Regions from separate parts of the Homo sapiens genome. Here all the other regions are linked to region 1. Evidence: promoter capture Hi-C in 16 types of primary human blood cells and fetal thymus (Javierre and others, 2016). All regions are on one chromosome and are shown on one strand. Each heading gives the region's core, a stretch centred on a gene start or on the middle of the fragment in contact. The rest is flanking DNA. Distances are from core to core; before and after follow the strand shown. Region 1 holds the start of BBX (BBX high mobility group box domain containing). Region 2 overlaps CBLB (Cbl proto-oncogene B). Region 3 has its middle 1.9 kb from the start of TRAT1. Region 4 overlaps DZIP3 (DAZ interacting zinc finger protein 3). Region 5 overlaps CIP2A (cellular inhibitor of PP2A). Region 6 has its middle 36 kb from the start of MYH15.

Region 1 (3,620 bases), core at 387-2,886:
GAGGTGGGAGAATCTCTTGAACCCGGGAGGCGGAGGTTGCAGTGAGCTGAGATCACGCCATTGAACTCCAGCCTGGGCTACAGGGTTAGACTCCATCTCAAAAATAAAATAAAATAAAATGCTGTGATTTTTTATATACTTTTCCTTTTAAAAATGATTTTTCTAAAAAAATAAACATCACATTTCTAAATACCACTTTGTTTTCTGAACTTTTTAAACTTTTCTGATTTTGTTTCTCTTTCTCCCTCTTACACAGGAGTGCTCACATGCACACATACACTCTTTTAACAACTTTATGGATGCGAGAGAAAAACCTTAAGACAGCATCAAGGAAATAAAAGGGGAACTGAAATAAGTTGCCCTAGTTGGGTTTTCTTTAAGTTTTAAAGCTACTTACCTAGGCCATAAAATCGTAGTGTTTATGTAATCTCCAAAATGTTTGTATTTGAGAATAATTCACCAACTCTTAAAACGGAAGGAACCCTAAGAAAACATCTAGGCCTAAGATAATGCCTGACACATAGTAGATGCTGAATAAACATTTAATTGAGGGAATCTGGAAAAGCTTCTTATTTTAATCTTAAAAATCAAAACCAAGTCTGAGCATTGGAGAGGTTAAGTAACTTGCTCAAGATTGCTCAGCTGGTTAAAGAGTTTAATCTACAATTTATTCCTTCTAATTTCCAGCTTTGACTTCTTTCCACCAACCTGTTGACTTATGTGTATTGAACTGTCTCATATAATCTTCTGAAGTTGCATTGTTGAAAAACAATCAGAAAGACCAGTCCTGAGGTTCATCATCTCCAAAAGTCATGCAACATATGATGTTCACATGAGATGTGAAATATGTAAAGAGTCATATATTTTTATATATAATATGCAAAATATAAATCATGTATATATTGAATCAAAGGTCTGTTTTGAAGGCTAAGGGTCAATAGCCAATCTTCCATGACTTATTTTACCTAACAGCACAGTTTGCATGTCCACACAGGTGATGGCAGTCCACTGACCAGTTAAAAGTTGTTTGGCTATTTCAGCAAAATGTTTATCTTTGTGTGTTGTTATATTGATTTTTTTGAATCTACCTACGAATGAGGCACTAACAACCTCAATGCATTAGAGTCCTGATAAACTTATCTTGCACTATTTTGGCCTATGTGATAGCTAACCCATTGACAAAAGAAATCCAAGGTGATAAAAGCCTTTCTTGGCCACTTGTTAGCCGGGTCAGGCTGTAAAATCGTAACACAATGCAGGCCTCTTCCATGGGGCACCAAAAGGCAGCGATGAAAAACCCCCCTCACTTCCATATCCAGTGGAGTTGTAGTTTATTACCATAACCCTCCCAAGTCAAAAGGACACCAGTTTCAAGCCTTGCAACTTGGTGCAGACAGGGGTTTTCCCCTTTACCCCACTCTGCTGGGCCTCTTTACCTGTCCTCTCCTACTGTCTACAGGTCCCGAACATTAGAAAATAGAAAATGTGATGATCTTTGTGTGTCTCTGTAAAATGTGTGTATGTGTGCGTGTGTTTGGGTGTAACGGGCCTCTTGTTTGGCTGCGCGGCCTGTCCGTCACTGCGCGGGCCAATGGCAGGCTGCCTTATATAAAATGAGTGTTTTCAGTCTCTCCGGGTTGCATGTACTGTATGTGGAGCAGTGTACAGTGAAGCGGAGGCAGAGCGGCTCCGCGAGCTTCTCTCCACTTTCCCATAGAGAAACCCTGACTGGCCGCTGAGGGCTAGCTACACACACGCCCTCACGCCCGGCGAGCCCGCGAGGTAGGCGCCCCCCATCCCCAGCCCTCCCTGGGCGCACTCCCCTCACTTTCTGTTTTCCTACTCACTTGCGAGCCGCCGGGCTGCAGCCCCAAGGACTCCGCGGCAGGAGCAGCGGCGGCGGCGGCGGCGGCGGCGGCGGCAGCCGGTAGGGTGGACTTGAGGAAGACGGAGGGAACCCCGCGCGTCCGGAGCCGCCGCCAGCCGGCCCGCTCCCTGGGCACTTTCCCCCTCCGCCAAAACTTTGGGTCGGGAGAGGTCGGGGGCGAGGGTCGCGGCGGCCGCGCCGGCTGGGGCCGGGGGGCGGGGGGCGCTGAGGCAGTGCCCTGCGAGCGGGAGGCTGGGGGCCGGGCTGGGGAGTAGTAGGCCAGCCGGTGCCAGGCTGCGTTTGCAACCAGCACCTCTCGGCACACAGGCAGCGCCGCCTGAGAGGGGCACGGGCGCCGGGGCGCGGGCTGGAGCGGCCCCAGGAAAACAACAACAGAGCCCTCACGCCGGCGGGCGGCTCGTGGCCGCCCGGGGAGCCCCAAACTTCATCTCGGCGAAAGTACGTGGAGCCCTGCCTGGTCTCGGCTGCCGGGGAGGTGGGGCCTGGGGAGCAGGGGCAGTGGAGGAAGGTACGAGGAGCCAGCCTTCGGTGGATTTATTGAACGTTTCGTCTGCGTTGGTGACCGGGAACAGCAGCCCAGTTGCTCGTTCATCTGGAGAGTTGGGATTTGGGTGTTCCGGCCCCGCAGATCAGTGCCCTCTCACCCCCCACCCCTACCCAAATGCGCGGCGAGTAGAGAAAGTGCTGTTTTAGTGCCAGAGTAGCCTGGAGGAAGAATAGGGGGAGAGGGGGAAGAGGGCGAGGGAGAAGGGGAGAGAGAAGAGGGAGGGAAGGGGGGGGAGAGAGGGAGACAGAGAGAGAGGGAGAGAGAGAACGGGAGGGAAGAGAGGAGGGGGAAGAGGAGGAGGGAGGCTGTGTCAGGATTTTGCTTGAATGTGGGATTATGTTGTGTCAATAAGTTTAAGGTGGAGAGAGCGAGGCTGAGGGTGGTGGTGGAGGGGAGGAGGAAGGCCTTGGCCGTTTAAAGTCTTATTTCTGAAGGTAAGTTACGGCTTTGCCTGGTCGCGATGACAGAAAACTTGCAGATCCTTTATCCGGGGATGGGGTCGATGCCTCTAGAAAGAGCTCCCTAGCCCTCTTAAGCCACACTCGTGTTACACTGTTATTTGCTGCGATCCGGGTCGCTAGTAAATTACAGAAATCAGACTCGAGGTTTCTTTTCCTCCTCCACCTCGTCTCGCTCACTCACCCTCTGAAATTTATTATCATATTTTATTTATTTTTTGGTATTGTATGAAACTTAACATAACTGAGACCGAACCCGAGTCCTGTAATTTACAAGGACCCTGAATCCCAGAATCTGGAACACGTTTATGTGTGAAATAGCCGCGATCATTTCTGCTAAATGAGGAAGGTAAAACGAAACGATGCAAAAAGCTAAGACACAACATGTACGACAGAGGGGGGGGGGGGGAGAGGGAGAGACAGAGAGAGAAGCTATTTTTTGCTTTCCTTTCTGTAGGAAGGAAAATAAAGCGTGCATTCCCCTTCCTTCCCAGTGTGTAGGGTCTAGTCAATATTTTAACTGTCTGTGGACAAATTAGTCCAGGTGGATCTTGTTGAAAAGTTTCGCGAGGTGGGGTGGAGGTGGGGGGGGGGGCGAAGGGGAAGGTGGGTGGAGGTTGTGGGGGATGGGGACGGAGCGAGCTCTGCCTCTGCTAATGGTCATTGGCCTGGGGCTTTGAAACCATTGCCTGTCCTGCTAATGACACGTCCAGTTCTCTTCTCCCGG
Region 2 (3,620 bases), core at 684-3,183, 1.7 Mb before region 1:
TCTGTTGAACTAAAAGGCAAAACATTTATTATTGGAATTAGGCTGAAAATTCCACTATAGCCATTGACTCAAAAAATTTGGAAATTACCAGGACCAATTCCTTTTGACGTGTCAATATTGAAATACAGAACTAGAACCTAACTAAGGTTACTGCTCAGAACCCTGATAGCTGGACTTGAGAATCAGGAACTGTCTCCATACCAATATACAACTGAGTTTTGTATTTGCTTAAATGTATTAGAAATATTTAAGGAGACTCTCTCTGTACATGCATTGTTTCACATGAATAAAAATATATTATTAATATATTGGCTATGCATTCCAATACATAAATATGTATTTAGATACATATATTCAACCATATCAAAGCAAAAGCACAAATACAAAAACAGGATTTACTAATGCTATAAGAATTTTCAAAGTCATTACTTATTCTTGGAATAATCTTGCATTTAAAGAGTTTTCTGACTGCGCCTTAATTAAAACTTCCAGCCAAAAGGTAATAAAAATGTATTAGATCAGATAGTACATTCCTTGCAAACAAGGTTCAAACCAGCCTGTGAAACATAGGAAAGAACTCTTACCAAATAAAATGAAAATTTCAACAGTAAGGAATTGTGCCTATACTATAAGACTTTCATTATAAAACACGCCTCACTTCATGGAGCATTCAGTTACACTGAATCAAGTCATATACTCTCAAGTGAACTGCCTCATTCTTAAAAACAATATAGAAAGCCCTGGGCTAGGCGCGGTGGCTCACGCCTGTAATCCCAGCACTTTGGGAGGCCGAGGCGAGCGGATCACGAGGTCAGGAGATCGAGAACATCTTGGCTAACACGGTGAAACCCTGTTTCTACTAAAAATACAAAAACAAAATTAGCAGGGTGTGGTGGCAGGCGCCTGTAGTCCCAGGAACTTGGGAGGCTGAGGCAGGAGAATGGCGTGAACCCAGGAGACGGAGCTTGCAGTGAGCCGAGATCGTGCCACTGCACTCCAGCACTCCAACCTGGGCCACAGAGTGAGACTCCGTGTCAAAAAAAAAAAAAAAAAAAAGAAAGCCCTGTCCTCCTCCTATAAATGTTAGAAGAGGTTTCTTATTACAGTGACCTAAAGTATATATATATCTCTCTCTTTATAATAACAGGTACCGAAGAGTTCTTTGGGTTCTTTCCATTTTAATGCAGCAAATAATTACTAAATATAAAAATTATAAAAATGTATTTTACTAAGTATAAAAATGTACAGTGTAAAAAAGTATAAAAATACACTTTTTTAATAGATTATTAATTGGGCAAAACAAAGTTGGCATATAAAATTGATCATGAGTCCAGCACAGCTGAATTTACAGAAAATTACCAAGACCTTTATGGTTTTCCACGAAGATGTCTTCAGAAGATTGACATTAAGAAGCACCATTAAAGAACTGACTAGTTGTAATTAAAATATCAATTGTGTATTCTGTTCACTCTCTTTCTTCCAAATGAGAATGGAACTTCCTTGAAAGTGAAGAACAGTCTTTCTCATTGGTCTCTCTCTATCACCTAATATGGAACTTTGCATATAGTAGATGTGCAACAAATATTTGATGGCAGAAAGGAGGAAGAGGAGGAGGAAGCAAACAAGGTAAGGACGAACCTCTCAGGAAAATTATATTACAAATAGCATATCCACAACTACATTGAATAAAGCTGCCTAAAAATGAGTACAAAGTTTGGAGAAGAATTTGATAATATCAAATATGGAAGTGGAGGAGGGGAAATGCCCTTTTGATTTACTTCCTTTGGAAAAAGGAAGCATCATATTATTCCATGGAGCAGTGTGCTTCACTCTTCATACTGTGAACACAGACATTAGAATCAAGCAAACCTAGGATCTGGCCCTAACATTTACTAGCTTTACAACCTTGGGCAGGGTTCTTCTTCGGGAAACCTCTTAGGATATTATAATTCTTACAAGAGGAAATGTAAAGTGCTATGCACTGTGTCCAGAACATAGTTAGCCCTATCTCCTTCTTAATATTTCTTCTCCCTTCCATATTTTACATTCCATCACAAGGCAAAATCCCTGCAGATTTTGCAAAGGTATGAAAATTAGACCAAGGGCACTGAACAGTTTGTTGAGGATCATGATTTTTAGAAGCTCTTTTAGCTCATAAAGTTACTCATGCTGCCTAAAACCCTTAAAAAGCCTGGAATGTTCTGTGCAGAAAAGCAGGAAATAAGGCTAAGCCCAGGTCAGTGTTCCTGTCAGCTGACATGGAATCCTCTGGTTTCTTCAAACCCAAGAGGCTCTCAGGAAAAGACGTAGGGCTTTAATATTTTTTTAAATCTTTTAACAGGTAGAATATTATAACTATTAATACTTTTTTCATTGATACTGTAAGATAATATAAGCTCAACAATCATCTAAATGTAACTATGTTAAAAACCTATAAAATGTGTTGGATATTTTCAAAATGTGTCTTTCATTACTTGAAAAAAATTAGCAACCTACAAATACTTAAAAACAAAAAAAACCTTTAGTAAAATTGTAATAATATTATTAATATATGCCCAAGCAGAGTAGATAAAAATAGCACTGTGGCATCCTCTAAGTCACAGCAAGTGTATAATAAGATAAACTTAATATTAAAGATGAGAATTGATTTCCATTTTAATTTTTTACTTATTTACCCACTTAAATGCTAGAAGACTAGTTAAAATACATATATTGCATATTTCATGATATAAAAATTAAAAACATGGTTTAAACATTATAAATATTATGCCTTAAATCACTTCCTGACAACCCAATATAAAATTTACAAATTCCCTCAAAACTTCTCTGTATATTCCCTTGCTTTCCTCCTGTGTAAGTGGAAGTTACATTTATTCGCCAAGATTAACCCTTCTACTTGTTCCTACTCTTTCCCTCCCACAGTTTAATCTAGAATGCTACTGCTTCAACTATTTCTTTTTCCCTTGCATCTTAGGCCATTCCCTAACTACATCCTTTCCCATCAATCTTTTTTTTTTCCCACCAATCTTTGAACCTCTCCTATGGTGTGTGCACACATACACACACACACACACACACACATACATACACACACACACACACAGAGTTATTTCAATGATGTTCAAATCCTCAAGCTAACAGAACTCCCTTCCTTTTCATTGTTGTTACAGTTCTAGAACAATTTTTAAATAATCCACATACTCATTTTAATCTCACCCCATCACATAAGTTAAACTGCTCCACAAAGGTCAATAATGGCCTCTAATCATACAATTCAATGACTTCTTAATTTTTCACCCTGTTTGGTTTTCTCTACTTGAATCTGAACTTAGTTTTATCAGAACTTCAGATTTTATCTTCTTCTTAAAGCTGTTTGTACCTAGGATGTCATTATGGTTTAATTCTACCTTTCTCATCACTAATCTATGTAGGATTCTCTTTCCTTCTCTGGTATTTAATTACACCCCTCAATCTCCCCAGAATTCAATTATCTGACTTTTTCTCTGCATTGCTCCCTCTATTCTTCCTCCGAAATCTCTGACAGTTATATAGCTTGAAATGCTATCTCTATGAGAATATCTACCAAATATGTGTCTCTTGTTTCTACTTCTCTCTTGAAC
Region 3 (3,620 bases), core at 547-3,046, 1.3 Mb after region 1:
AAGAAAAAGTTGCCTGATCCCATGTTTTCTAAAACATATGCTTTATAACAGTAATCTTGTAAAATGCTTTAAAAATAAAGGATATTTTTAGTGTTTAATTTTTAAGACTTCTTGTTCTGTAAGGCATGATACTTGTAATAAAAAGAGAAAAATCTGATGCTAAGTCTATGCATTGTTCTATTGCTTTTAATTTGCTTTTACCTTTTTTGTCTGAATAGTCATGCTTTCTGGAGGACCTTATAGTCTAAACTCAATGAAAATATAAATACTAATATAGCCTAATCAGAATCAATTGCAACCTCATAATCAATTTTGAATAATTTCACTGTTGAAAATAGCATAATTGATAGCCCAGGTGGCCCCTCCACTCCTTTCTCTCATCAAGCTGTTTGCTTACTTTGTACTAGCTTCAGTATGACTAAACAGCAATTCACCAGAATAAATAAAAATTACAGAGAAGTAAGTAGTGTTTCAATAAAACAAATATTATAAAGAGCCTTTAAAATAAGGGCACAGCTTTTATTCCAATTATAACACTAGTGCATGTTATTGTAAGTAATTTAAACAATAGCTAAATACATTTGTAAATACAATATCTATTCAACAGCTTGGAAACCCTCTCTCTCTCTCTCTCTCTCTCTCTCTCTCTCTCTCTCTCTCTATATATATATATATATATATATATGAATATATATGTGTATATATATATCTATATATGTATACATATATACATATATACACACACACGCAGATATAAGAAAATACATTATAGTGATGAAAATTAATTATAAAAATGATAGATGATCATCAAAAAAGAAGTTTGAAAAACTGGGCCTCTTTCTACACTCTGACCCATTTTTCTGAAACTCTGAATGGCAGCTGCCATTTTGACATGTTTTTCATTTTCTTTTGGCAACAAAACATCAATTTTGTTGGCCTTAATATTTTTATTTCTTGGCAGGTGCCCATCAAAACCTCCCCCCAAAATTTCCTACAACATCTCTAACTGCTTTAAGCTTGTCGAGACATTTCTGCTTAGTCTAGCTTTCTTTGAAATTCCATTTTGATAACCCATCTCATTAAAAAGTACTACAGAGGCCTCATGTTTATTTATGATTTAAACATGGCTCATGAAGCCATCATTCAAATCTCTGAATGCACTTTCTAATATATTTTATAACAAATAAATATCCATATGCTTTTTTATATTCTGATAATGTTTCCATGTGCTCAGCCATCTATATTTAATGAAAAGCTATTTTTTTTTTCCTGGCAAATTTCAAACATCTATGGAGCTAACTAATGTGCAGGCACGGACTTCCTGTGTGACCTTGGACAATCTTGTTACATCTCCGTAGATTATTTAAATCTATGGAATGGAACATTGTAATGAAGATCACTTTTCAAAAATATTGTAATAATTAGAAACTGTGAAGTGGTTCAGATTTATTAGCCTAAGTTTTTACCATTTAGAGATGTCAATCATGCATAGGAGGTACATTAACCCTTTTAAGCCATAAGGTAATCACTCAACAGGTACTTCAGGCTCTTTCTGAAGCAGGACATATCCTTCCTAATGTCTCTTCTGCTCTTGCCTTCCCCAGCTTCCTGCAGCTGTATGGGTAAAGTCATACCCTTGAGGCAGGGAAGCCCTTAGACAGCTGCTCTCCCAACAGGTGGGTTTGCTTTGGGTCTCTCTTCCTGTTGGGCTGCTCTGAGAGATACTTCTGAGCAAACCACAGAGTTCCTGCATTTTTGCCTGAGTCATTCTTGCTGAGTTGACCTTCTCTCCATTCACAGCCAATAATAATTAAACACCGTTTTTTCTGGAATTGCACTTTATGGATCAGCTGGGATGAAAGCATCTTCCTTCCTTCTTTCCCCATCCTCTGCGATAATTTTGTTCTAACAAAGGAATGCTAGCACCAAAATTTCCAGTCCTGAAACCCTTTCTCTTTCCAATGTCCTCTGTAAGCTCGAGTTGTGGGCATCTACTTTGCCCATATTCCAAGGTCTTGCTTAGGTAACCTCTGTAGTCCTTTCTTGAGCCTAGGACTTCTACTTTTCTTACCAGTTACCCTCTTTCAGGACCAAAGCTCAACTCCTCAAGGCCATAACTAGGCCCTCTCCTCTCAAACTGATTTATCAGGTGCCCGAATCTTCCTGAATGTCTGGGATTCAACTTTTCAGCAGTCTTCCTCCCTACGTTCCATCTAATTCTAAGATGAAACCTTCTGATTCTTTGTTGTCCTCTGATCCCTACATGAACCTGAGGCTGCTGTTCCCTGAAGTCTTGTTCTGTCAGCATCCAGGCCTGCTTCATAAAACCTGTCACTCTGCTAATGGTTAGCGGCTGAACAAAGAGTCCTCTGGCCAAATAAGTTTAGAAAAACTCTGATAAAAATATTATTTGGGTTTCCTTTTCGCAGGACTTACCTAAGCCTTTAATATGCATCTACGGAGGTAAAAATAAAGCTATATATTTTTTCCAAAGATATTTGTTGAAGAAACATTTGTCTTCTGCGTTTCTTAAAGGCCGAGTGTTCTATGGAACATACTTTAAAAATCCCTTTTAAAGAAGCTTAGACCAGAGAATCTCCAAGGTCTCTTTCAGTTTTACAGCCTCTGAGTCAACGATTCACCAAAAAATATTTTGGGGGGGAGTGATTGAAGTGGAAAAATGTGTTAGTGTTTAGCCAGCTTTGTCCAAAGGATAAGATGCACTGTATTTTGCTTACTAGGGAGTTATTTTCTATAATGGAAGACAAAGAAAGCACAAGACACCCATGGTTTTGTTTGTTCAATCACTGAGAGTAAGTCTCAATTATTGAGACTTACGATGTGCCGGTGTGCTTAATTCTAGTTATGAAATTTTAATAATGAATAATATAGATTCTATTCCTTATATGAGTTTCCAAAAGCATTGTCCAGAACATCTATATTAAAATATCTTATCATATACAATATATGTAATTTAAAATGCACTCAGAAAATCTGCTTGTTAAAATGCAGATTCTAGTGCTTCACCCTAAATAGTCTAATTTAGACGGGCCCAGGATTTTAAACTAGCATCTTATAGCATACTTATGTACACCAACATGTAAGAACTGCTGCTATTAAGATTCTGGGATGGTGGTTGAGAACAGGAGCTTGTTGTCAGGTGGCTCTAGATTGGACAGAGAAACTCATACTGATAAGGTGAGGATTGTCAGGAAATAAGGCAGGCATCTAGCCTCGCATTAAGATGAGGTATAGAAGGCAACTGATACATACTAAGTGCTCAAAAAATATTAACTCCCTGTCCTCCATCATGGCTCAAGAAAATACAACAGCTGAGCACACCCACGGGTTGCTTACTATTTACTCATCAGTTTAGTGTATCTTATTTTGTTTCCATGTGAATTTACTTGTGAAGAGATGACTGGATTCTCTCCAGAGATAGGAAGATCCCTCCTGGTTTAATTCCTACCTTTATTTATTTATTTTTCAATTAGACTCAGGTATTGATAAAAATTCAAATGTCAGATTACAAAGGTGTGTGGGATTTTTCTTCCCACGTTACACAATTTAAGTCGACTGTTTTCAGATCAAAACTCAAGACAACTCCTTCACCACATTTC
Region 4 (3,620 bases), core at 484-2,983, 1.1 Mb after region 1:
TAGGTCATGAAGGTGGAGCCTTCATGAGCAGGATTGTAAAAGGCCAGAGAGCTCTCTCACCCTCTTTCTACCATGTGAGGATACAACCAGAAGTTAGAAGTCTGCAGCCCAGAAGAGCACCCTTATCAGAACCAACTTTGCTGACACATTGATCTCAGACTTCTAGCCTCCGGAACTGTGAGAAATAAATTTCTGTTGTTTCTATAGTACTTTACTATAGCAGCCCCAATGACTAAGACAGTCATTTCAAAAGCCACAAAGAATGGCTAGTTATTGCTGCTAATCTAGCAGATGTACTCAGATCAACAATAGTTAAAATTCTGATTCCAAGGAACTCCTATCACAAAATGTCCTGCCATGTTCTTTGAAAGTGTTTTCTTCAGTGTTTTTAAGGGTTGAAGTGACCATAGCATCTTGATGTGTCAACTTTGAGGAGTTTTTTGGAATTCTTTTGGTAAAATTTAGCAGAAATGATAACTAGCAGTGTCAGAGTCTGCTTGTTAACAGACCCATGATCTTCTGGAGTACATTTAATTCAATGTTGAGTTAGGAAATCCAGCTTTTCAAAATAGCTATCAAAATTTTAACCAAGTTGCATGTTCAAGGTGGTGGTATTACAGCATTGTTTGTAATAGCATTTTTTTTTTTTAAAGTCAAACCTAGAGACAGCTGAAGTTTTTAATCAAAGGTCTGGTAAAATGATACATGCATACATTGGTATATCATGCAGTTTAAAGACTAAAGTAGATGTATATGTGCTGGTATGAAAAATGCAAGGTGCTGAACAGTGTGCACACATTATGTTGTCTTTTGTGTCATGTGATGTATTTGAAAAATAATTTTTTATCCCACTTCTTAAATCTCATTAACATTCCTTTCCAAACAATAGCATTTCTCCTTCACAGTAGGGAATTAGAAGAAAAGTTAATTAATTTTGCTGCAAACCTAAACAGTTAAATGATGATGATTATGATTATGAAAATGGTGATGATAGGAACACTTATATAGTGCTTACTACGTGCCAGGTACTATTCTGTCTTTTAAGCATTTAATCTTTACAACCCTATGAAGGAGGTACTGTTGTACCTCCTATGGATCCCTATGTTTTAGATAAGGAATACCCTTACAGTAGTTTAAGAGCACTGTAATCACTCTGTAAGGGTATGCTTTGACACACACTCTGCTTTGACACTCACTAGCTAGCTGTGTGATTTTATGTGAAATTAATAAACTTTCTCTGTGCTTCAGCTTCCTTATCTAACGAAGAAACTCAAATAATTTTGACATTAATGGATATCTGCATACTTTATGTCATTTTGCTTTCTTGTAGACGTAAGTTTGTTTGTGTCTGTACATGTTGTATAATATCAGGATGGTCTTATTTTTCTTCCCCAGAACAATCTCTAGGTCCACTTAATTAAGCTTGTTAATCTTAACTCATTCATTTAGCTGAATGTTTCTCAATGGAGAGTAATTTTATGCCCCAAGGGATACTTGGCAATATCTGGAGATATCGTTGATTGCCACAATGGGGCTGAGGTGTGTGGATGTGTGGGTGTGGGTGTGTGTTGGTGGGGAGCTGCCTCTGGCATCTGGTGGATGGAGGCTAGGGATGCTGTGAAACATCTTAAAAATGCATAGGAAAACTTCCCGTAACAGGGTTATCCAGGCTGGAATGTCAGTAGTTCCAAAATTGAGAGAGCCTGATATACTGGGCATAGGAAAAGTTCTTAAAAACTGTATTCCTTTCCTGAAAAAGACAAAATATATTACTTTGTTTTAAGTTAGTAGCGTGGAGAAAAGTATGAGCTTTATTTTTATTGTTTTCCACACCGATACTCACTTTTTCCTCCTGGCATTGTATAATCTGTAAGTGCTAGAGTTGACAAGGGAGGGAAATTCACGGGACATCCACCCACACTTTGAAATGTAAACTTGTTGGCATATTAGAGTCTCTATCTTGGCCAGGTATTTTTGAAATCAACCCAGTAGTGCCATAGATAGTTGTTTTTGGATAAACATAGAGATTGACCCTTCTGGTGTTAAAGCTTGAAACTTGTATTTATTTGAGTTTCTTCCTCAGGAAACGACCTTTAGGCCTCTCAAAAAAAAGTATCCAAGAACTGAAAATTACCAGATCACTTCACCAGATGCCTCTTTGCCCCTCCCTAGTTATTATTTTTTTGCACATTATTACATTTCTTCCCTGCTATATAAACCCCTAGTTTTAGTCAGTCAGGGAGATAGATTTGAGATTGAGCTTCATCTCCCCAGCTGTAGCACCCAATTAAAGCCTTCTTCCTAGGCAAAACTTGTTTCAGTGATTATCTTTCCAGGCGGCCAGCAGTAGGATCTAGACTGAACCCTTGGTATTTTGGTAACATTTTAGTCAAGATGAACATTTGAGTGGATTTTTATAAAAATGTGCCTATATACAGTTTAGGAAGGTGATAGTAACACAAGTTAAATGTTTAAGTGGATTATTAAAAAATTATGCATAAGAGCTGTGCCTGCTTTGACGTGAATAAACACAGCTTTAAAAATGGAAACAAAATACCTTTACAACTAAAAAAAATTGTTAAAATTTCAGTAAGTAAGAGGGAAAGTAGGAACTGAGAGTTCAGGTAGAAGGAACAGTAAGGAAGGCATGTCACTGTTTATTAAGATATGGATGGTATTACCTTATTTTTCAACCAGTAAAACACAGCCTACAGATAAGATCATCTTGGTTAGTGGATAAAGGTGTGCTGTAAATTGACATTGAACTTTAGCTTGCCCTCAGATCAACCAACAAGGACCTAAATAGATTTCTGGAGAAGAGCAGTCTCTTAATCCCAGGAAGTCAGAGTAAATTTAGTTTACTGCCGACAGGGAAAGTCTATTGAAATGAATACGCTAGGGGAAACTAGATTTACCTTTCTTTTTTTTCCTTCATGTTAACGCTTTCTTAAAAGGTTTCCTCTTCTAGAATGGTAAAAACCTTTGGGTTATTTTAGCAGCTCAGTGGTGACATTTCAGGCTGACTGCTTCCTTTTGGTTGCTAGGCACTTCGCCTTTCTCGCAACAGAGGCTGTAAAGTGCTACTGCTGTTGCTATTGCTGGTAGTGTTTGCCACACATACCTGTTTAGCTCCTGGGAAATGATGAGATTGATGATTCTTTCTCCTGGAAAACCTTTCATCACAGAGATTCATCTCAGGTTGTATTTTGAGCAAGCTGAAAAAGCCCTAGCCTTTCTTAACTCTGTTAATTCGGGATCCAAGTATCTTTTTGATTTGTTGATTAATTTTCCACCCATTTCTTTTTCAAGCTGAACACTGAACAGCTTAGCAGAGGCCTTCTGTCCTCTCTTATCTCATCACCAGAGGATTTTCCTCCCTTCTTTTCATCCTTGCTGTGATCTATGCAAACAGCTACTGGCCAAAGAAGAGCTTAGCAGAGGGGGAGGACTCCAAGTCTGAGCTTTGATAAATTCTGGAAATGAGGGGATTGTTATCTGGAAAAGGCGTACATTTGTATTCTCTAGGTATGAAATAATGCCTTAACTGTTGTTACTTTTTATTAAAATAACACAGAGAATTATAGAAACCATAAAAGTAGTTTGATCACAGTTCTAAAATC
Region 5 (3,620 bases), core at 345-2,844, 1.0 Mb after region 1:
CCAATGCCAACAGAAACAAATGAAGAAATATACAAATACAACACAAGAAAGGAAAAGGCTGAGGAAGCAGCACTATTGTGAACATTCTCTACATTAGTGTCATGAGCACTTATGTTCAATTCCTGTGAAAGTATATAAAATAACTGTGCAGTGAGACTATTATAACTGCTTAAGACAACAACTTTAAACTTTCTTCTCATTGCCAATTCTAAGAGAATTATCTTCTAAAGATTAAGAATATTAAAACAGAAACTTATATTAGGACCATTTATGTATGAATAAACTTCAATGTTTGAAGAGTTTAAACTCACCTGAAGTATTTTGTAGAAGCTTACTTCCATACCAGGAACCAATGGTTTAAGTTTGTTAATCAAATCAAGAGTTTTCAAAATTACATCAGCAGCAAGTTTGCTTTAAAGATAAATCACATTTAAATTAGATAACTGAAAAATTTCTTAGAGCTTGTTTCTGTCCAAAATTCTAAAGAAAATGAAAAAAACCAACACTTGTGTTTTTTAAATTCAAGATGATAAAGTCCTGTTTCTATTGAGAAGTAAAAATCTCAATCAACATTCTTATAACTCAAGATCCAAAGAGAACAAACTGGCATTAATAGCCTTAGTTTAGACAGTGTTTCTTTTACTACCAACCTGCTTCAACTTTCTGTTTCAAGTAAGTAGTAGTTTCGAAACACAGTTCATTTAATTCTTAGCTTTGTCACTAGAATATCAACAACAGACGGTAACCTTAGGCAATATAGAATATCTAATACGTAATGAATGAATTACACTAGGTCATGTTCTGAGTTTTGTACCTGAAAGTAGTATACAAATATAAAAACAGATAATTCTTACTCTAAAGGTCCACAATTACTGACAATTGTGACATCTGTGGAAACAGAAACAAATCATAGTGTCTACCACTCAGCAGGTCCTCAGTAAAGATTAGATGGACTTAATTCATGAGGAGGGAAGGGGTATAAAGTAATATCTTATTACCATCAGTGAAAATCCACCTTTAACCATAATTCCTGACCTGCCAAGGAAGGAGAGTTGTCTGTTATTAAAAAGCCTTTAGCAGTGACTGATTTCCTTGTAATAAAACTACTCTTCTGTTTTTTCATGCTTTTCATTTAAAAAAGTAAAATTGATTACTGAGGCAATGTCAAAAAGGAGCTCCAGAAATGTTCAGAACCCTTAGATAATTATAGTAAGTTAAAACAAGACAAAACAAACCTAAACAATAAAAAACAACAAATGTTAATACCTTTCTTCAAAAAGCACACAATCTACAAATTGAATGAATTTACAAAAAATTCATTATGAAAATATGTTTGTTAATCTGTTATATCTTAAGTTATAACCAAAGGATGGTCCTCCAAAAGGATGAGAATCACCACATCTTTCGATTTTTTACTGCCTTGCCATTTTGTCATTAGAGTTTATATACTCACCATAATTCAGAATCTGCAACCTTTGTTCCAAATCCCAGGTCAATCTTGCCATATGTAAATTGTTGTTCTATAAGAGTGGTACACTTGACAGTTGTCAAGATTTTTGCAATATGCATTTTTAGTGTATCATCTCCACAGAGAGGTTAAGTTTTGTTAAGATATACAACAAAAAAATTCTCACTTTATGTGTAAAAGATAACATTCAGGATGATTTCATACAAATTATATCATCACTGTCATCCAGTATAATTATTGTTAAATTAGCTCAATGACAAACAAGGAAACTGAAACTCACACAATTTAAATGACTAGCAAGTGGTAAGAGATGGACTGGCACCAAAGGTTTCTGACTCAATGGTTAAAACAGCGAGGATATCTTTCCATTGGATGTCTGTTTTTTGTTAGCAAGAATCTCAATGGTTCAATAAATATTTATTGAATAAGGGTAAGTTGTTTTGTCATATTTGTATATTATAAATTAATGTAAATAGCTATTATTTTAAAAGTTGTGGTCCAATTCAATGAGAAGGCCCCACTTTATTAATTATAAATATCTCCAAGGTCAAGCAATCATGTATCCCTACTGCAGTGGTTCTCAACTTTAGCTGCATGTTAGAATCAACCAGGTAGTTTAAACAATCACAAACAAAAAAGCCAACATGCAAACACACACCACCTAATGATTTCAGGGTTTCACATCACTCCAATTAAATTAGAAACTCTTGAAGTAAGGTTCTGGCATCGATTTTCTTTTTTTTTTTACATGTTCTCCAGGTGATTTTAGGTAGGAAATCAGGGTTGAAAGTCACTGCTTTAAAGGAAGAAAATTAAGGAGCAGTACCTTAGAAGAGGATATTAAACAGGGGTGGAGTTTGCTCTAGGACAGAGTAGAACATATTCTTGTTGCTCTGAGATACAAGGAAACCTGACTAGATACATTTAAGAGATCTGGTTGAGATACAGTGGCTCTTTGCTCATAGTAAAAAAGTATTAATGAAATATTTTAAAATTGGGACTTCCAGCAACTCAGAATTAGTTGGTCTATGAAAAAGTAAACACAAGGAAGACCTAGAAAATCAGTATATAGAAGTTAAGCAGTGAAACTAAAAGGTTTCTTTTTAAATGAATGAATTTGTGTTGATATACTTGTCTTTTCTTATAACCATTATTAAAGCAATTATGAAGGCTTTATTTTTAAAACATAAGGTAAAACAACTGAGCTAAAATCATGACAACTCTATCAGCATTTCTTTATCCACGAATACACATCACCAAAAAATGGCACTACTGATCGTCCGTCCAGGGGAAATAATTAGCATCAAGCAGAAAACAGTAACATGGAGTAACAGAATAGTCATTTTAGAATTTACCACCAAATGTCAAATTGTGATACAAGTGTCAAAATCAAGCTTAAACAGCATTTTAAAAAATGTACTTTAACTTAAAAGTTTCACACAGAAAAATAAGGAAAAAAAATCATGGATCTTTTTCACTCATTGAGAATTTTTTCTACAGTTCAAATTTTAGTTCAGTAATTCTAGATAAATATGAGCATAAAGTGACAAATTACAAATAAAGACAAAATGCAGTGAATGCAATACTAGAAAAAAAAGAATGGTTAGTTATACAGTTTTCACGTTAATGACAGTAAAGGATATTTAACAAAACTTCAATGGCCTTGGCAATCCTTTCACATTTTTTTCTTGTTAAAGCCTCATCTAGATTTTGTTCTGTGAACTGAAGTTGATCAAGGATTGTAGGCAGCAGAAGGGTCACAAAACGATCAGCCGAGGAACAGTTAGCAGCATCTATGACATCCTGGAGAATTATCCATCACAAATGATTAAAAGCAAAGATGGAATATACAATACAGAAAAAGTCATCACTGAATTGTAACACTCTCTTTAAATTTTTTATATTTCCTTCAATATGCCATTGACCTAAGTCTCCTGTGAATATTTAAATTTTTATTTAAAATTTATACTTCTAACCAGTTTTGAGGGCTATGGCTTTTTTCTCAAATTAGACAGTAAGGTTTTACAAATAAGACTTTTTTAAACAGACTTTGTGATTTAAAAATTATTCTAAACTAAAAGTATCTACTGAAAACAAATATCCTGAATCTGCTAAAAGTAATAACAATAATTAAATAATAGACATTGGTCTT
Region 6 (3,620 bases), core at 433-2,932, 1.0 Mb after region 1:
AGCCAGCTTCAAATATTTATTATTGAGTTCTCTCTCCTCTGGATTCTGTACAAATTCCCAAGATTCTTGTAACCCTTCCTTGATATTATAATTAAAGGTTTGTATTTTCATTATCTCTGTAAACACAACACATACATCTCTACTTTAAGGTAGATAACACTAAATGTCTTTGGACTTTTAAAAAAGAGCCTACTACAAAAATGGTATTTCTAAATAGAAATACTAACATAGATTAGGAAAACTTTTAAATCTGTCAAAAGAGCTGGGAACATAATGGGATCCAAGTCCTAGACATATTGTTTTACCACTAAAATTTGGCAAACTTTTCTTAACTACATCTTTTCCTCATAATCTCCTCCAGGAAATTAAAGAAGTAACAATGTACAACCTCACAATGAATTTTGTAGGTACAGTCATTAATTAGAAACTACTATGATACCTAAGGCTAATCTGAAGTATGAAAAATGCTTCTTTCAAAAAGAGATGTTAATTTACCACTGCTTATAATTGATATCTAATATAAATAAGTTAGTCTGAGCAACCCAGACTAGTCTAGTCAATAAAAGTGTTACTCTTGGGGTGTAGACAATAATTTAAAGATTTAACCCCTAATCTCTCCATCCTCTACTACTCTCGAAAATAACAGAGAATCTTTACCGTTCATTTTACTTTCTCAATTGGCCAAAGGTTTGATGAAGAGAAAGAGGAAACCAAGGACAAAGGACATAAAACTTTTTACTTCGTTCCATCTCCAAAAGGGAGATAAACCATTATTGAAAATCTACTAAAAGCCATGAGCTTTATTTGTATTTTTTCTAACAAGTATGTGTTATTCTCATTTTACAGAAGAATAAAACATTAAATAAAAACTTTCCTTAGGTAGAGCCAGAACTCAAATCTAGATGCGGTTACCAAACCAATGTTTTAAAACATGGTTTTAAAAAGTTAAAGTAACATTGTACTTCTAGAAACCAAAAAAGTCAATTATAATTTCATTATGCAGAGGTTACCACTGTTCACTGTTTCTAATATACACATACACACACACACACACACACACAAACAAATCTTAAAGATATTCAGGTATCTGAATCATTGTTTACAAATAGTTTGGTTTACTTTTTTTCACTTAACACACCAAAAATCTCTTCCCAATACCTATTATATATTTCAGTAACTTTTCAAAAAGGATGCATGATATTTTACTCCATGACTGTACCTTATACTGATTAACCAATCTCCTATTACTGTATAAATTGTTTCCAATTTTGTGCCATAATATTACTGTACATAAATCTTAGTGCACAACCTTATTTCTTTCAGATAAATTGCTAGAAGTGAAGCTTCTGTGTGTTCCATAACAACACATACTAATTTAAAAGTCATATCAGTTTGTGTTTGAATCATGGGACTTCTTTTCTGAGAATGCATCTTTTTTCACATCGTTTTTACACACAAAGGGGTTGGGATCACTGTTCTTTCAGAATTCTCTCAGCTCTAAAATGCTGATTAACTGTGGGTATTACACAAATTAGTATGGAGTAGTTGATAGTAGCCTTTACTTTCAGTTAAAATGAAAACCCTGCCTAATTGAAGATGAACAGTGCTGTCTTTTGCTAGGGCTAATCATAAGCCTTTTTATTTGAAGTTTGAGAAAAGCATAACACTACTCTAATACATTATATCTTTTGGCTCTTTGAGATAAGTGAGATGAAATATGATACTTAGAATAACAGTGAAGATAATGTAATGGAGAGGCAAAATCATGTTCATTACTAAATCCCTGCCAAATGCTCAGCTACTTACTGGAAAATTAGTTTTTAATAACATAATGAAAGTGAAAGCCAATCCACTCTGTTGACTTTGAAAATGTCACTCTCTAATGTAGTAGTGGACAGAATGTAAAAAGTCCTTTGCTATGTATCCTGGGATTATCCATCATATTTTGAGATATCGAGAGAATATAGATACTGGGTCCTTAGGAAATAGACAACTAAAATGTTATATTTAGTTGGAAGGAAAGAAGCTTACTCCTTCTTGCATTTATGAAGGGATACTTGTAGCTCAATGTGCAAAAAAAGGTGAGTTTTAAGAGTTATACCTCTTATTCATGGTTATGTGATAATAAAGTTTTTTCTGGGGTAGTTTTGAAATATTTAAATGAACACAAGTATAAACCAAACGGGACTCACAGAGGTCTTCGATGACAGGAAGAAAGTCAGTTCGCTGCAAAATGCTTAACTCAGTGAGACTGTGTAAGGTTTCAAAGTGATTTGCATGTTGAAAATAAACCATGATTTTTTGAGTTCACAATGTTCCCTCTCAATTTATGGAGTACAGAGGTATATAATTTCAAGGACTTATCATGCTCATTATTCACAACATAAAAAATCAATGAAACATCTGCCTTTAAAAAAATAGGCCATATATATATATATATGTCTGAGGTGTAGCGGTGCAATCACAGCTCACTACACTGCAGCCCGAGGGACATGTCACCACACCTAACTAATTTTTTTTTATTTTTTGTGGAGACGTGTGTCACTTTGTTGCCCAGGCTGGTCTGGAACCCCTGCCTCAAATGATCTGCCTGCCTAGGCTTCCAAAATTATGGGACTACAGGCATGAGCAGTGACCAAGTTTTAATTTTTAAAAGTTAATTATCTAGAATGTAAACTTAGTGAAGGCTGGAAATGTACAATTATTTTCTTAATCCAAAATACTTTATTATGGGTAATACTCATTTAATATTTATTGGTAATCACTGAGAGCCAAGGTAAAGTGATGATCCAAATGAATTGAATGTCATGATTTAAATAGGCAATTCTCAAATTAGGGGGTTTGGGTAGAAAAATAATATCAAAAAGTTCTTGTAGTTAAAAAAAAATCAATATGCTTAACATGCCTATTTATTTTCTTAAACTACAGAAAGCAAATCTCACATGCTTTGCTTGTAAGAATATGCAAAAAAAGTAAATGCTGTATTAACTGAAAAACTCTAAGTACTATATTTTAATTTCGTGAATGATATGGGTGATGTCATATAGACTGCTATTTTCAGTACATTATAAAATTACCAAAATGTTCAATTTTCTACCTTTAAAAAGTAGGAAAATATCCACTTGGCAACCAACCATCAAATTAATAACTGATTCAAGTAAGAATTATCAACAATACTAAAAGTAGCAGATGCAAGTTGGAAGAGAAACAGCCTATATGCAGTATCTGCCCACAAATTACTTATTATTTCCAAAAGGAAAAACAGGAGTGTTACACTGAAGAAACTACTTTGTATTGGTGCATGCAAAGAGGTGAACATACTGATGTTGACAGCCAGAGTCTTTCCATGTAATTGCTTAAAGCAAAAATTATCACATGGTTTTGAAGGTTAGCTACATAAGCAGAGGTAATGCACATGTCAACTATAGCATGAAGGATGAGAAGAGGACAGATGGACCTATATAGTTGCAAGGTTTCTACATTTTAAGTTAAGTGGTACAATATTAACTCTAAGTGGATTGTTAAAGGACTTATTTTGTCAAAATTGATAAAAAAGCAAGACCCAATTCTATTTGTTTACAAGTCATGAATTTTACATATAAACATAACAGGTTAAAAGT

Evidence for each region. Contacts are between HindIII fragments. The CHiCAGO score rates a contact against its expected background, and 5 or more counts as called.
Region 2: a fragment that was not itself captured here is called in contact with the fragment with the promoter of BBX in region 1 in 1 of 17 cell types (neutrophils); the score reaches 6.3 in neutrophils.
Region 3: a fragment that was not itself captured here is called in contact with the fragment with the promoter of BBX in region 1 in 5 of 17 cell types (naive CD4 T cells, non-activated CD4 T cells, fetal thymus and 2 more); the score reaches 8.0 in naive CD4 T cells.
Region 4: a fragment that was not itself captured here is called in contact with the fragment with the promoter of BBX in region 1 in 6 of 17 cell types (naive B cells, M2 macrophages, total B cells and 3 more); the score reaches 9.0 in naive B cells.
Region 5: a fragment that was not itself captured here is called in contact with the fragment with the promoter of BBX in region 1 in 5 of 17 cell types (M2 macrophages, M0 macrophages, total B cells and 2 more); the score reaches 12.3 in M2 macrophages.
Region 6: a fragment that was not itself captured here is called in contact with the fragment with the promoter of BBX in region 1 in 2 of 17 cell types (total B cells and M2 macrophages); the score reaches 6.8 in total B cells.

Annotation. Positions count from the first base shown.
Region 1 is chr3:107,521,326-107,524,945 of GRCh38, forward strand. It overlaps BBX (BBX high mobility group box domain containing), which reads left to right and starts at 1,637. Exons shown (of 18, transcript NM_001142568.3): 1 at 1,637-1,782. RefSeq lists an enhancer at 1,254-1,303 and silencers at 1,704-2,013, 2,044-2,133, 2,244-2,313. The HindIII fragment of the contact is 5,936 bases long and covers 564-3,620 here.
Region 2 is chr3:105,858,627-105,862,246 of GRCh38, forward strand. The region is part of intron 2 of CBLB (Cbl proto-oncogene B); the gene reads right to left. Among named protein-coding and RNA genes, the nearest start is that of CBLB, 8.6 kb to the right of the region's middle. The HindIII fragment of the contact is 4,116 bases long and covers 1-3,620 here.
Region 3 is chr3:108,819,102-108,822,721 of GRCh38, forward strand. No RefSeq gene overlaps it. Among named protein-coding and RNA genes, the nearest start is that of TRAT1, 1.9 kb to the right of the region's middle. The HindIII fragment of the contact is 1,565 bases long and covers 1,015-2,579 here.
Region 4 is chr3:108,599,710-108,603,329 of GRCh38, forward strand. All of the region lies in intron 1 of DZIP3 (DAZ interacting zinc finger protein 3), which reads left to right. Among named protein-coding and RNA genes, the nearest start is that of DZIP3, 12 kb to the left of the region's middle. The HindIII fragment of the contact is 626 bases long and covers 1,421-2,046 here.
Region 5 is chr3:108,565,044-108,568,663 of GRCh38, forward strand. It overlaps CIP2A (cellular inhibitor of PP2A), which reads right to left. Exons shown (of 21, transcript NM_020890.3): 10 at 3,112-3,271; 11 at 1,454-1,595; 12 at 312-411. Among named protein-coding and RNA genes, the nearest start is that of CIP2A, 23 kb to the right of the region's middle. The HindIII fragment of the contact is 2,532 bases long and covers 329-2,860 here.
Region 6 is chr3:108,544,657-108,548,276 of GRCh38, forward strand. It overlaps a transcript of MYH15 not described here. Among named protein-coding and RNA genes, the nearest start is that of MYH15, 36 kb to the left of the region's middle. The HindIII fragment of the contact is 683 bases long and covers 1,342-2,024 here.